Linked DNA regions of Homo sapiens: region 2 is linked to region 1. The links are contacts of gene promoters, found by promoter capture Hi-C in blood cells and fetal thymus (Javierre and others, 2016). All regions are on one chromosome and are shown on one strand. The core of a region is centred on a gene start or on the middle of the fragment in contact, and the rest is flanking DNA. Distances in the headings are between cores, read along the strand shown.

The links. The method cuts DNA at HindIII sites, captures the fragments that hold promoters and counts their contacts. A CHiCAGO score of 5 or more calls a contact.
Region 2: a fragment that was not itself captured here is called in contact with the fragment with the promoter of LINC00892 in region 1 in 1 of 17 cell types (neutrophils); the score reaches 5.7 in neutrophils.

What each region holds. Positions count from the first base shown.
Region 1 is chrX:136,638,178-136,640,877 of GRCh38, forward strand. LINC00892 (long intergenic non-protein coding RNA 892) reads left to right here and starts at 1,366. Exons shown (of 3, transcript NR_038462.1): 1 at 1,366-1,627; 2 at 2,597-2,663. The HindIII fragment of the contact is 12,266 bases long and covers 1-2,700 here.
Region 2 is chrX:136,943,934-136,946,633 of GRCh38, forward strand. No RefSeq gene overlaps it. Among named protein-coding and RNA genes, the nearest start is that of RBMX, 65 kb to the left of the region's middle. The HindIII fragment of the contact is 5,509 bases long and covers 1-2,700 here.

The DNA.
Region 1 (2,700 bases), core at 116-2,615:
TTCCTTGTTTCTTCCTAGCTTTTAATGGTTGCCAGCAATCCTTGATGTTCTGCGGCTTGTAGACACATCTCTCCAATCCCTGCCTCTGTTTTTGCATGGCTGTTTTCCCTCTGTGTTTGTCTGTGTTCAAATTTCCCTCTTCTTATAAGATCACTAGTCATTGAATTAGGGCCCACCTTAATTCAGTTTGACCTTATATTAATTTCACTAATTACATTTACAAAGTATTTCCCCCCCAAAAAAGTCACATTCACAGGTGCCACATGGGCATGAATTTGGGGAGGGGAACACTGTTCAACCCAGAACAGATATCAACCCTACTGCTTATTTGAAACTGCTTCAGATGTGGTTGGTTCCCCGATGTCAGGGGAGAGAGAGGGCTCCAGGCATCAGCCACCCTGTGACAAGGAGTACCAGGACATCCTTCTCCTCAAAGTCAGAAAACATCCTGATGTCAAAGATACGGGCTATTGAGTTATATGTGGAAGTGCTCTAGTGGAAACTGTCCCAGGTCCACGCTTACCAAGATGGCGCAGTTCACCATGGGGCACTGTGATGAAGAAAGATTCCCAACTCCACTTATTCACAGGGGAACACCCGTGCCACAATAGCTATCAAAGGTTGTGGTAATTGTTTTCCAATTATCTACCTGTGGGCAAAAATTAACATGGGTGCAGAGCATGGAGGGGAACTTTTAGCTACTACTCATAAGCACTTTAGGGACACTCTCAACTTATTTTTACAAAACTGGAACTGGGCCGGTTGCAGTGGCTCACACCTGTAATCCCAGCACTTTGGGAGACCGAGGCAGGCGGATCGCCTGAGGTTAGGAGTTCAAGACCAACCTGGCCAACATGGCAAAACCCCGTCTCTACTAAAAGTACAAAAATTAGCTGGGCGTGGTGGCAGGTGCCTGTAATCCCAGCTACTCAGGAGGCTGAGGCCGGAGAATCGCTTGAACCTAGGAGGCAGAGGTTGCAGTGAGCCGAGATCATGCCACTGCACTCCAGCCTGGGCAACAAGAGTGGAACTCTGTCAAAAAAAAAAAAAAAAAAAAAAAACTGGGGACATCCTATTTCTGCCATGATATTTGCACTATCAGTGTATCACAGGGGTCCTTCTAAGCCAGTAATATACTTCTGTACCAAAATGTATTTAACTAGTAATCCTAAATCTTTTGATAAAGCCCTTCCATTTCTCTTCCACCCCTGTGGTCCCTGTGGTACATCTTGTGCTGAAAGATTACCTTCTACTCAAATCTTAACTATTTTACTGAATCTCTCCACCTCCTTTTGCACCCCTTGACTCAGCCAGGAAAAAAATATATATATATATATATTTCCTGCCCCTGGCGTTTCCTTAATCAGATGCAGACATGGCTGGATGTTCTTTGCTGGGCTGCTGAGTCAGAAGCCTGGACGGGCCAGCTTCAGTTTTAATGAAGTGGCTCAGGAAGGAAGTGCTAACAGAGATGGGTGCACAGTGCAGTCAGTGGGTGGGAGCTGATGCTGGCTAGAAGACCTGAGTCTTCCGAGAGGCAGCTTGATTCCTGGAAAAGACTACTGGGCTGGAAGTCAGGAGGCCTGGGGTACTCTCAGCTCTGCCGCTAACATGCTGCATGACCATGGTAAGTCATTGCCTTTCTCCGAGCCTCAGTGAGAAACAGCGGGCCTGGCCCCAGAAGACACTGTGGGAGAACTAGAGGTCTTCTGCGTCAGGCCCCCACTAAGAAGGCAGTCTCCTGTGAGGATACCTAAGAGATGAGTTAGAAGCAGAGGGCACATTTCACAAACAGCCCCCAAGGGGTTGTCAGGAACAGACCACAGGAAGAATCAGAGAGACAGAAATTGCCCAAGCCTGTGGTCTGAACTGAAGAGGGCAGCCTGGAGGACACCAGTTAGAAGTTGGAAAGAGAGAGAGAGAGCCCTGAATGAGTTAAGTCAAGAAGAAGGATCATGGTAGAGGTAAATTGCAGGGTAGGCGGGGAAAGGCTGTGGAGAGGGGTTTCTGGGCAGTGGAGCCAGGAGCTAGCCTACTAAAGTCCTGGAGCTCTAGGGGAGATGCAGAAAGCAGGCTGAGGCCAGGCATGGTGGCTCACGCCTGTAATCCCAACAGTTTGGGAGACCAAGGTGGGCAGATCACTTGAGGCCAGAAGTTCCAGACCAGCCTGGCCAGCGTGGTGAAACCCTGTCTCTACTAAAAATACAAAAATGAGCCAGGCGTGGTGTGCATACCTGTAATCCCAGCTACTCAGGAGGCTGAGACATGAGAATCACTTGAACCTGGGAGATGGAGATTGCAGTGAGCAGAGATCGCGCCATTGCACTCTAGCCTGGCGACGCAGCAAGACTCTGTCTCAAAAAAAAAAAAAAAAAAAAAAGGCAGGCTGAGACTAGAGCAAGGGAGGTTTAAAAAAATGGACTAGAACCACACAGACAAGTCTTAAATGTTCAATCATGTCAGGCTGATATTTGAAGGAAAACAGGTGCCAACTATGTGCCCACCTGCAGAGCATGCCATCCCTGAGACCCTTCACCGTGGAAGAAAGGGAACTTTTTGTTCTATAAACACCTGATATTTCATGTTCCACATTAAGGGCTGACTGGAGAACCTGAGGTGCTGTGCAGAGACCAGAGGAAGGCTTTGATCCCAAGCCTGCAGCCGTAAGAGAAGAACGAGCCCATGAGTTCCAGCCTGTGG
Region 2 (2,700 bases), core at 182-2,681, 310 kb after region 1:
TTATAGTTGTTTTAAAATGTGTTCTGGGCCGGGCACTGTGGCTCATGCCCATAATCCCAGGACTTTGGGAGGCTGAGGTGGGCGGATCACCTGAGGTCAGGAGTTCCAGACCAGCCTGGCCAACATGGTGAAGCCCTATCTCTACTAAAAATACAAAAATTAGTCAGGCGTGGTGGTGGATGCCTGTAATCCCAGCTACTCGGGAGGCTGAGGCATGGGAATCGCTTGAACCTGGGAGGTGGAAGTTGCAGTGAGCCGAGATCACGCCACTGCACTCCAGCCTGGGTGAAAGAGTGAGACTCCATCTCAAAATAAGAGACTCTGTCTTAAAATAAAATAAAACAATAAAATAAAAAGTTTTTCAGCTTTAAATAGAATTTATTCATTCTAGAAACACTTAAAAGGGCATATTATGTACCAGGCACTAGGGTTACAAAAATGAATAGAAAGAGATGCACATCAGTAATTTTTCCCAACTGTGAGTGAATGGTTTTATTATGCATACACATGTATAGACAATTCCATAAAGATTACCTATTATTCATTACACAGAAGCCAAGGGATAAATTGTATGCTGAGTAAGTAAATCAAAAGGGAAGCATCACTGTTTCTCCTTTTTATTTTTCTCCTATTTTTCCTTTATTCCTCTTTACATTTTGAGTAGTAAGTCTCCACATCCCTGACCAGGCATTTGCTAGCTGCATCACTCCTCTCTGATTTCAAACTTCTCTAGTTTGTTTCCATCTTCTATTTTTAAAGTTTTTTTCAGACAAAAAGGTCATGTAGATTATATTTTTGGTATCTTTCATTTCTAAGCATGCTGCTTTATACACAGTAGGCCCTCAAATCTTTGAGTGCTTATAAATATGATTTTTGCTTCATCTAATTCTCTAGACATGCAGTTAAGATTACAGGATGGGTTACTTAGTATATTGAAAAAGAATGATATGAAATATGAAAAACAAAGCCATTTAAAAGATATTCATGACACTCTAGTGCTTTACTTGCCCCTGGACCAGATGTTTGTGTTCATGGGTCAGTGACTCTTAGCTCCGGACTGTATTAGTGGTGCTTCACCAAAGGACTGATTTCAGGCTATTCTTTTAATAGGGAAAACCCTTTATGACTATGTAGATCTATGTATTTCCATTTTTAGTCTTTTTTAGACTGTGTATCATATATATATATTTGTATACGTGTGTGTGTGTGTGTGTGTGTGTGTGTGTATATATATATATATATTTATTTTTTTTTTGAGATGGAGTCTCACTCTGTTGCCCAGGCTGGAGTGCAATGGCATGATCTCAGCTCAGTGCAACTCTGCCTTCCGGGTTCAAATGATTATCCTGCCTCAGCTTCCCAAGTAGCTGGGATTACAGGCACCTGCCCCCATGCCTGGCTAATTTTTGTATTTTTTTTTTTAGTAGAGATGGGGTTTCACCATGCTGGCCAGGCTGGTCTCAAACTCCTGACTTTAGAGGATCCGCCCGTCTCGGCCTCCCAAAGTGCTGGGATTACAGGCGTGAGCCGCTGTGCCCAGCTGGATATCATATTTTTGATCCAGGTTTTGTTACACTCAGTTTCATCTAAGGCTTATTTTTTATAGCTTCAGATATTCTTTCCTGAGACCAAACCCTAATTACTGTATTTGGGGCTAGGTCTCAAATCTCGAAAATTTACAAATTGTGCTTGGTTTGTGTCATTTCTGTAGATGGCCTGACAGCCATTATAAAATGATTCTTCCTAATCTCATTCTGAAAGCAATTCCACATTAGGAATACCTCGCTTTTGTCCCTATGTATCACCTTTAGTGGTTATCTCCATTTTATAAATGAGGCTACTGAAGCCCAGCAAGCTCAAGTAATTTTCTCAGGTTCACAGCTAGCAGGTGGTGCAAGTGATATTCAAAACCATGTCTGTCTGGCCCCCAAACTCAGTTTTTCTACTATACCATTCTGGCTTTCTTTCTTAAGGGTCTATTATATTTTCTGCCTCAGAGTCACTGTAAAGAAAATGAGAACCATTTATGTTAGAAATGTGTGTGTGTGCCTTGAATCATCTAGCTAGAGGTCAGGATTACTTGATCCTACATCCTGTAGTTTACCCAAAGTACGATTGGTGAAAACAGGCAATTTACTAGTCCAATAAGTATAGTCCAGTCTTCTAATCTTTGGATGAAATACAGAAGTGTAATCTGAGGAAAGGAATGAAATGCACTCTGAAGGGGCCGGGCATTGTGGCTCGTACCTGTAATCCCAGCACTTTGGGAGGCAGAGACGGGCGGATCACCTGAGGTCAGGCGTTCGAGACCAGCCTGACCAACATGGTGAAACCCCATCTCTACTTAACATACAATAATTAGCCAGGCATGGTGGCAAGTGCCTGTAGTCCCAGCTACTTGGGAGGTTGAGGCAGGAGAATCGCTTCAACCTGGGAGACAGAGGTTGCAGTGAGCCGAAATCACGCCATTGTACTCCAGCCTGGGTGACAGAGTGATACTGTCTCAAAAAAAAAAAAAACAAAAAAAGTGAAATGTACTCTGAAGACATTTAATAAACCTTTCTTCAGCTACTGAGAATAGAATACTATTCAAAGTCTAAGCTATTATCATAAGTTGATTGAAAGCTGAGGTCCTTATACATTTTTGTCAGTTATCAATCAGTTATTAAACATTTAAATGTAAGGACTTTTATTCTTATA